2 separate regions of the Homo sapiens genome follow, and region 1 is linked to region 2. The links are contacts of gene promoters, found by promoter capture Hi-C in human tissues and cell types (Jung and others, 2019). All regions are on one chromosome and are shown on one strand. The core of a region is centred on a gene start or on the middle of the fragment in contact, and the rest is flanking DNA. Distances in the headings are between cores, read along the strand shown. Region 1 overlaps LOC105371814 (a long non-coding RNA gene). Region 2 holds the start of EFCAB13 (EF-hand calcium binding domain 13).

Evidence for each region. The method cuts DNA at HindIII sites, captures the fragments that hold promoters and counts their contacts. A contact is called where the count stands out against the background at its distance.
Region 1: a contact is called between a fragment that was not itself captured here and the fragment with the promoter of EFCAB13 in region 2, in 1 of the 25 tissues and cell types used here (heart left ventricle).

Annotation. Positions count from the first base shown.
Region 1 is chr17:48,899,103-48,903,946 of GRCh38, reverse strand. The region is part of intron 1 of LOC105371814 (a long non-coding RNA gene); the gene reads left to right. It also overlaps the pseudogene LOC100419622. Among named protein-coding and RNA genes, the nearest start is that of UBE2Z, 6.9 kb to the left of the region's middle. The HindIII fragment of the contact is 4,077 bases long and covers 1,517-4,844 here.
Region 2 is chr17:47,322,530-47,327,855 of GRCh38, reverse strand. EFCAB13 (EF-hand calcium binding domain 13) reads right to left here and starts at 3,901. Exons shown (of 25, transcript NM_152347.5): 1 at 3,782-3,901; 2 at 3,333-3,402; 3 at 1,469-1,630. It overlaps EFCAB13-DT (EFCAB13 divergent transcript), which reads left to right and starts at 3,955. Exons shown (of 3, transcript NR_110880.1): 1 at 3,955-4,167. RefSeq lists enhancers at 3,113-3,292, 3,333-3,422 and a silencer at 3,763-4,172. The HindIII fragment of the contact is 8,264 bases long and covers 57-5,326 here.

The sequences.
Region 1 (4,844 bases), core at 2,306-4,805, 1.6 Mb before region 2:
GGTCAGGAGTTTGAGACCAGCCTGGCCAACATGGTGAAACCCCATCTCTACTAAAAATACAAAAATTAGCTGGGCGTGGTGGTGGGCACCTGTAATCCCAGCTACTTGGGAGGCTGAGGCAGGAGAATCACTTGAGCCCGGGAGGTAACACGCCACTGCACTCCAGCCTGGGCAACAGAGGGAGACTATGTCTCAAAAAAAAAAAAAAAAAAAAAAAGGACTCCAGAATTTTGCTTGATTATTATTTATTCAGTAAGGTGGTCAAAGGTCAGTTTGCTTGGTAACCTCATACAAAGAAAAACACTATTCCATAGCTCCTCCATAGCTACAGAATACAAAGGCCCAGAGGTGGCCCATGGGGTGAGGGGATTCCTCAGTGTATCTCACCACTGGACCATTATTTTCAAGTACAAGGTCTGGTAGTGATGGGGCAATGAACAGAAAACCCTTACCTTAGATTTAGATGGAGGTTCAGGTTTTTAATCTGCATCTCTTACCTTCTTTGAAGCCTATTTTTGCAGCCTATATTTTGCAATATAGAATAGTGAAAATTCCTACCTCTCAAGGTTTCCCTGAGGATTAAGTGTGGCATTTCCAGAAGCTTTTGTAAAGTGGCAAGGACTGTACAAATAATTGGCATCTCACTTTCCAGTGTACCTTCTCCCCCCTCCAAGCCTTTGCCCATTTTTTCTACTTGGAATACTCTTTTTTTTTTTTTTTTGAGGTGGGATGGAGTTTCACTCTTGTTGCCCAGGATGGAGTGCAATAGTGCGATCTCAGCTCACTGCAACCTCTGCCTCCCGGGTTCAAGCGATTCTCCTGCCTCAGCCTCCCAAGTAGCTGGGATTACAGGCATATACCACCACTTCCGGCTAATTTTGTATTTTCAGTAGAGATGGGGTGTCTCCATGTTGGTCAGGCTGCTCTCGAACTCCTGGCCTCAGGTGATCCGCCCGCCTCGGCCTCCCAAAGTGCTGGGATTACAGGCATGAGCTACTGCTGCCCGCTGGAATACTCTTTACCTCTACCATATCCTAGGTAGGGAAATCCTAGTTGTTTAAGCTCTATGAACCTCTGCTCTTCATCAGCAAAATTGAGAAAATAATAGTAGCTACTAAGATCATGTGATAATGAATGTATACAATGCCTGGTCACTGGAAATGTTCAATAATTATTAACTCTTATTATTCTTACTCATTCTTCAAGGCTGGCTGGAATATTACTTTCTCTGCTAAACACTGACACTTCCAGGCATATTATTATTATTATTTTTAATTACTCCCTCCTCTGGTTCTCATGGCTGATTACTCATACCTTTATTATAACATGCACTACTTTTTATTTTAATGGCTTTTTACTCATCCCTCTGGCCACTAGATATGACCTCCTCCTGGGCAAGAAGCATGGGGGCACCTATCTTTCTATCACTTGGACCTGACATTCAGTGGGTGTTGCATAACTGGTGAGCAGAATGGAAATGAGAACACGGTAGCCAGCTGCCCTTCCCCTGGCTATAGATCTTACAGTTTTTATCTAAAAATATGTTTAGAGGCCAGATGCGGTGGCTCACGCCTGTAATCCCAGCACTTTGGGAGGCCGAGGTGGGTGGATCACTTGAGGTCAGGAGTTTGAGATCAGCCTGGCCAACATGGTGAAACCTCATCTCTACTAAAAATACAAAAATTAGTCGGGCGTGATGGTGTGTGCCTGTAATCCCAGCTACTTGGGAGGCTGAGGCAGGAGAATAGCTTGAACCCGGGAGGCAGAGGTTGCAGCAAGCAGAGATCGTACCATTGCACTCCAGCCTGGGCGACAGAGTGAGACTCAGTCTAAAAAAAAAAAGAAAAAGAAAAAAATATATATATGTATATATATGGAGACAAGGTCTCACTTTGTTGCCATATATATATATATATATATATATATGTATATATATGGAGACAAGGTCTCACTTTGTTGCCATATATATATATATATATATATATATGTATATATATGGAGACAATGTCTCACTTTGTTGCCATATATATATATATGTATATATATGGCGACAAGGTCTCACTTTGTTGCCATATATATATATATATGTATATATATGGAGACAATGTCTCACTTTGTTGCCATATATATATATATATATATGGAGAGAGAGAGGGAGACGGGGGCGGGGGTGGGGGGGCGGGGGGAGGAGAGAGACAGACAGACAAGGTCTCACTTTGTTGCCCAGCTGGTCTTGAACTCCCGGCCTCAAATGACTGTCCCGCCTCAGCCTCCCAAAGTGTTGGGATTATAAGCATGAGCCACCATGCTTGGCAGCTATATATCTTAGCATTTACTTCCTCTGCCATGCTTATTTTTTCTTCTTTTTTCCTCCAGTATCCTCATTTTAACAGTATTATACCTATTATATTTCCAAAAAGGCTGAGCCAAGCTTGCACAGAGAACCTGCAAGTCAGGGCCTGAAGGGCTGCAGGGGATGGCAGCTGCTTAAAGGACCAGTTAACTACCTCTGGGAGGCCTCTAAGCTGGGGGAGAGAGGAAGGGCCAGACAGAGGGAGCAGAACATAAGCTGGTGCTTCTTAGTTCCGTGCTCACTTTTTCAAGGCCAACACTTAGCTGCTTTCCCCTGGCAGCTTGGGCAGAGGGCAAACATGTGCATCCTTGGAGCCACTTCCATACCCTCAGAGGTAATTGACACAACTGAGTGGAACTCAGGAACCTGGATCAAAGCCTCTCTCTCCTTAGCACTGACTACAGTGCATTGGGCTGTCTCTTGGTGCAACAAGGTTTGGTAGCACGTCGCTCGTGGCACCTAGGCAAGTGCCCTCCATCTGACAGGCATTAGCAAGTGTCCTGGGGTTCAGGTCTCTGCTGTGCCTCAATCCTCTGAGAAGATACACCATGAAGATCCTTCTCCTTCCCTTCCCTAAAATCCTGGGTCCTATGGCCCTCTGGAGTAGACCTCCAGGGCCCAGCCTTTTGTCTTGGTTAAATGCCAGGGATAAATGAAAAAGAATTCCCACCATGTCATAAACCTTACACTAAAGAGAATAATCAGAACTTGGACTAGATGTTTTGAAGCTTCTGATTGTAATATCTGTTTTTTTTTTTTTTTTTTTTGAGATGGTCTCTCGTATTGTCACCTGGGCTGGAGTGCAGTGGCGCGATCTTGGCCCACTGCAACCACCACCTCCTGGGTTCAAGCGATTCTCCTGCCTCAGCCTCCCGAGTAGTTGGGATTACAGGTGGCTGCCACCACGCCCAGCTAATTTTTTGTATTTGTAGTAGAGACGCGGTTTCACCATGTTGGCCAGGCTGGTCTCGAACTCCTGACCTCGTGATTCACCTACCTTGGCCTTCCAAAGTGCTGGGATTACAGACGTGAGCTACCGTGCCAGCCATGACATCTGTTTTTAATAATTTAATCTGTTATGTGTTATCCCGTTAATTCCCTCTCTTTGCCACCATTGCTGAACTCTTAAGGTGATGGTTGCTAATTGTTTTCTGCTCACTATTCCTCTGAGAATATAATGAATACAATGGGCCCTCTCCCAAGAACAATGCATTGCTGTATCCACTAAAAATATTTTACACTAAACAAAATGGTCTCATCTATGGACCAGTCCATAGACCCTAGATAAAGAACCTTAATGATAAAGTTCTGGGACTAACTAGCTTGGTAGGGGGTAAGGAAGCATTCTCCCCTGACTCTCCTGGACTCCGTGGGCCCACCAACCACATTCCCAATTCTGCTGACTTGAGTTTATAAATGCAGCCATTCCAAGGCTGTTTGGAGCCCTTCATGAAGGGAAATTCTTTTTAAATTTTTATTATTATTTTAAAAAAACAGAATATTTATTGCATGACTAATGGTTGAAAGTTTTTTTTTTTTTTTTTGAGATGGAGTGTCGCTCTGTTGCCCAGGCTGGAGTGCAGTGGCACGATCTTGGCTCACTGCAACCTCTGCCTCCTAGGTTCAAGCAATTCTCCTGCCTCAGCCTCCCGAGTAGCTGGGACTACAGGTATGTGCCACCATGACCAGCTAATTTTTTTTTGCATTTTTAGTAGAGACGGGGTTTCACCATGTCAGCCAGCATAGTCTTGATCTCTTGACCTTGTGATCCAGCCGCCTTGGCTCCCAAAGTGCTGGGATTACAGGGGTGAGCCACCGCACCCGGCCTATCGGTTGAAATTGTTAAGATGACTCGGATGCTGCAACAGCTGCCCTTTTGTGTTTAGGTGTTGTTTCTTCACGAAATCCATGCCTGAATCTGTGGTATACAGCTTTTAGGTGTCTCATTCGACCAGTCCCAGTGGCATTTCATCTTTGAGCCTTGGCACTCCAGTTATACTTCCTCTTGTGCTTGGCAGGGTAGCCACATTTGCCACAGGTCGACTTTTTTTTTTTTTTTGGAGATGGAGTCTCACTCTGTTGTCCAGGCTGGAGTGCAGTGGTGTGATCTTGGCTCACTGCAACCTCCACCTCCCAGGTTCAAGAAATTTTCTGCCTCAGCCTCCTGAGTAGCTGGGATTACAGGCGTCTGCCACTGTGGTCGGTTAATTTGTTTGTATTTTTAGTAGAGACGGGATTTCACCATGTTGGCCAGGCTGGTCTTGAACTCGTGACCTCATGTTCCCCCCCCCCCCCCCCGCCCCCGCCGCCCCAGCCTCCCAAAGTGCTGGGATTACAGGCGTAAGCCACCGCGCCTGGCCCGCCACAGGTCGACTTCTGAAGGTGGTAGGCCTTAGAGCCATATTGGTGGCACAACCTGTGTGTCTTATTGCAACGCTTGCCAAACGTTGACGTTCCCTTCGTCTTGCTTCTGCAGCCGAGACCAAAGAGC
Region 2 (5,326 bases), core at 2,652-5,151:
ACAGAATTTGAATTCAGACAATTTAACTCCAAGCCTGTGGTCTTCAGTCCCATAGAACATTGCCTTTCAAAACAATGCTACTGCAAACAAAAGATGGTGTAGGCCGGGCGCAGTGGTTCACGTCTGTAATCCCAGCACTATGGGAGGCCGAGGTGGGCGGATCATGAGGTCAAGAGATTGAGACCATCCTGGTCAATATGGTGAAACCCCGTATCTACTAAAAATACAAATCAATTAGTTGGACGTGGTGGCATGCGCCTATAATCCCAGATACTCAGGAGGCTGAGGCAGAATCGCTTGAATCTGGGAGGCGGAGATTGCAGTGAGCCAAGATCGCACCACTGCACTCCAGCCTGGGATATACAGTGAGACTGTCTCAAAAATAAAAAAAAAGGCCAGGTATGGTGACTCACATCTGTAATCCCAGCACTTTGAGAGGCCAAGGCAGGTGGATCACGAGGTCAGGAGTTCAAGACCAGCCTGGCCAAGATGATGAAACCCCGTCTCTACTGAAAATACAAAAATTAGCCGAGTGTGGTGGCACGCACCTATAATCCCAGCTACTCAGGAGGCTGAGGCAAAGAACTGCTTGAACCCAGGAGGCAGAGGTTGCAGTGGGCCAAGACCACGCCACTGCACTCCAACCTGGGTGCAAGACTCTGTATCAAAAAAAACAAAACAAAAGAAAACAAAACAAAATAAAGAAAGAAAAGATGGTGTAGCCTCACTTCAAACTCAAGACTTTCACATTATGCAAATGTGATAACCAACACTTAGAAATTCCTCAAATTTTCATATTTTCAACTCACATCTGAGTTACATTTTATGAGCTATTTATCACAGTGCTAGCTATATTACATTATATTACATTGCTAGTTATAATCATCAGTCTTTTTCTTGTAAAGTTTAACTGCAAGTATTAATATTCTAATGAAGACAGAGTACTTAAAATCATTTTTATTTATTTCTGACATATGTTTATAGTCATTATTTTTCAATGTGATATGTCCAACATTCCTGGAATTCAAAATATGTTAAAATAAAATAGAACCACATTGAAAATACTCATCTCAGAAAATACTGGAAATCTATGCAGGTCTCCCCAGTAACCCATCCTACGTAATCTCTTCTAGATCTTCTCCAACCAGTTCAATATTTACCTCTAAACTACTGTGCATAGCACTTACTGCCTTCACTATTCTTGTCTTCACTATTTAACTGACATTAATCATTTGCCTTGTATTTGTATTTTTCATATGTATAGCTCCTATACCAACTATAGCCTAAATTTATAAAGAACTGGGACTGGTAACTTATCATTCTTAAAATTATTTCTCACAGTATCAAATACAATGGTATATATATAATGAAGGAAAGAGTAGAGGAAAGGAGGAATGGTATGGAGGGAGGGGAAAAGAGAGGGAGAGAGGGATGAATGAACAAATTCCCTTCCTACTAAGCTACTCACCAAGATTTCTTAAATCATCAAAGTGCTTAATTAAGCAGAGTTGACACGTTTTGAATAAATCTTGAAAGGAACAATTGTTCTGTAATTTATTGACGAGATTATCAAAAAGTTGGCAGGTCTTAATTTGCTGGATGAATCAGGTACCGCATAAGCCTCTCCAAACTTAAAAGAAAAAATTAACTTAGAAAGTCTATTCCCTGTAACTCTGACAATATAATTTTTCTCAACTATTTCAATCCTGTCTTCTATCGGTGAACTTGCAGGAACAAATCAAGAGAAATGGAGGGAGTCGTATCCCTTTTCTCCAGTCATCTATCCATTCACCTTTCTATCCATGAATTCAACGTATATGTCTGCATGCTTAGTGTGCACTAGGTTCTCTCCTAGGCTCTAGGGATATACCAATGAACAAAATATATATATGCTATATATATATATATATATATATATATATATATATATATTTTGTTTATATATATATAAAATCTGCCCTCATGAAGCTTATGTTCTAGTCAGGGAGTGAAATAATAAAATAGAAAAATAAAACATATTGTATGTTATCTGCAATAAGTACAAAAAAAAAAGTAAAGCAGGGAGGGGAATATGAAATGTAGTATAGGGGAAGAGATGCAGGGAACAGAATGGGTGGCCAAGGAAGACCTTACTGAGAGGGAGACTTTTGAGTACAGACCTGCAAGAACTGAAGTAGGGAGCTGATTAATATCTTAGGGAAGAGCATTTCAGCCAGAAAGAAAAGTAAGTACAAAAGCCCCGAGGCAAGAAGAATGTTCAAGGAATAGTGGGAAGGCCCCAGGAGGCTGAAGCAGGAGAGATCAGAGAGGCTAAGTGAAAGTGGCATATCATGGAGGACCCCTAGATGACAGTAAGAACTGTGGCTTGTACTCTGAAGGAGTGACAAGCATTGAAAGAGTTCTGAGGAGAAGGATTACATAATCTGAAGTTCTTTCTGAAAGGATCACTCTGGTTACTGTGAGGAGGGAAATCAGGTAGGTCTGGGTTCCTGAATGCCAAGTGAAGAAAGTACTTCAAGAGTGAGCAATCAGGCTGTGCATGGTGGCTTATGCAGGTAATCCCAACACTTTGATGCGGGGGTGGGGGTCTAAGCAGGAGGGCTGCTTAAGGCCAGGAGTTCAAGACCAGCCTGGGCAACAGTGAAACTCCCACCTCTACAGAATTTTTTTTTTAATCAGCTGGACATGGCGACCTTAGTCCCAGCTACTCCAAAGACTGAGCCAGGAGGATCTTTTGAGCCCAGGAGTTTGAAGCTGCAGTGGGCTATGATTGCACCACTGCACTCCAGCCTGGACGACAGAGACCTTGTCTCAAAAAAAAAAAAGGGGGGTGGGGTGGGCGGTTAAGATCAGTACTGAATGGTTCGCTAGGTTTCACAACACGGAGGACACTGACAAACTTGAAAGGAGCCATCTGGGTGGGGTGGTAAGGAGACAATGTCGTCAGAGTGAGTACAAGAGAGAACGGGGTAAAGAAATTGAACCCAGCCAGTAGGGTAGGCTCTTTCAAGGAGTTACGTTGTTAAGAGAAATAAGGCAGTAGCTGAGAGGAAAATGGGGCTGTGAGGCTTTAAGATGAGAAAAACAAAGGCGTCTTCACTGAAGCATGACTCTGTATGACATCCTTTCACAAAATACCTTCCTCTTTCCTCTCATGCCACATTTCCCTCACAAGCCGCCCGACTCGCTCGCTTTTCTCTCGCCAGAGGGACTGAAAACGTCATTAATACCAACTGCATACACAACTCCATTGCAGCTACTGCCATTCATGAACGTTCAAACTTTCGTCACCCTGTTTTCATATTTGTGTAACAAACGTCGAGTGAACGAACCTCCACCTCTTCCAAGAACCCACGCTGAGGAGGCTTCCCATAGACCCTGCTCTTACGAAGCCAACGACTTCTACAGGAAGAAAGAGGACCTGTAAGCTAGCGAGTGAACGACCCGCAAGATGGAAATGAGTGTGCTAATAGAGGTCTCCGCCTCCCGCTGAAGGAGCAGGGAAGTGACACCACCCCCGGGACCGCCAGCCTTCTACAACAACCACCATTTCTGAGGAACCACCTGATCAGTCTCAGTCACCCTTCAATCTGCCCCTTTGTCCCACTCAGTCCCCTCACTGTTCCTTTCTGGAACCTTCCTTCACCCAGCCCCACCACTGTTCTCCTTCCTCCCTCGCACCCTACTGCATTCTCCACCCTCCACCTCGAAGGCTCCCCTCCCAACTCCTCAGCGGGTCTCGCCTCCCCTCCCCACCTCTGTCCCCCAAGGGTCCCACTACCGGCCCGAGCTGCCCTCCCTTCCTCTCGGCTGGAGGCCCCCGCGCTCTCTGTGGTCAGCCCCTGCCGCCCCTCGGGCGGCGCTGCTCTAGCTCTGCAGCCTTCCCAGGATCCCGCGCCGCGCGGCCCCGCCCCCGCGGTCACCTGACCGAGCCCGACGCTCCGCCCACCGACCACCCCGAGCGGAGCGGGCCCAGGACCCTATCGGCTGTCGAGCCGGTGCTGCCGCGGCCACCGCCACCGCCCAGGGGCTCCGGGGCTGTGGGGAGCGGCTGAACTCAATACCGCCTCCGCGCTGACTGGAAGGCACTGCGGCCGCGCCTGCCTGCCCCACCTCGTAAGGGCCTGTGACCTCACGAGGCCAGCCGCCGGGCGCTGCATTCGAGCGGTGGGGCTCCTGTCCGTGCGCTTTCCTCCCGCAGCCCCGGCCGGGATTCCGCCCTCCGTCCTTGCCACCCGCTCGCCACTCTTCCCTAATCGCTGTTCATTCTCCGGTGCGCTGTCCCGCCATGGTCTGACCCCACTTCAATCTTACCTTCGGTCCGTCCTTTGAACACCCCGACCCCCGACCCCTTTCTTCCAAAACATTCCATCCTTCTTGGCTTCTGCTACTCAATAATGGACAGCAGCTCGAAGGCCATGTGTCCCACGGCTTTGCTGAAATTTGTCTCGGGTTGCCTTTAAGGAGACTGTCGTTTCCTTTTGAAAGAGATACTTTGGTTGGTTTGGTTTTCTTCTGTGTGTTTGTTTTTCCTATGTATTTATCGTATGCAGTTGGGCAAAATACTTAACGCTCCCTGAGTCTCGATTTTCTCATTCTTCCAGGGTTGTGGGAATTCAAAAATATATACGTAGTGCTCAATAAATGTTACAATATTTAATCCCTTCCGTGATACTACTGTGTTCATTTACATCTTAAACCTTGCTTTGTAGGCATTCTTTAATATTTTATTTAGATTTTTATTATTATTAAATATATGTACAAATCATAATTGTAAATATTTAATGGGGTACAATGTTATATTTTAATATATGTATACAATATGGAACGACTAAGTCAAGCTTAACATATCCATCACCTTGTTTAACGTTTTTTATGGTGAGACATTTGAAATTTACTCTTAGCAGTTTTGAGATATACGATATATTATTATTAGCTATAGTCACCACACTATGCAATAGATCTCAGAAACTTGCTGCTTTTGTCTGACTGAACCTTGTACCCTTTGAACAGCATCTCCCCATCCTGCATCTCCTACCCGCCCCGTCCCTTTCCAGCCTCTAACAACTATTCTACTGTCTACTTCTATGAGTTTGACTTTTTAAGATTCCACATATAAGTGAGATCATGTGGTATGTGTCTTTCTGTGCCTGGCTTTTTTCACTTAGTATGTCCTCCAAGTTGATTCATGTTGTCACAAATGACAGAAATTCTTTTTTAAGGCTGAATAGTATCCATTGCATATGTTGATTCATGTTGTCACAAATGACAGAAATTCTTTTTTAAGGCTGAATAGTATCCATTGCATATGTTTACTACATTTTCT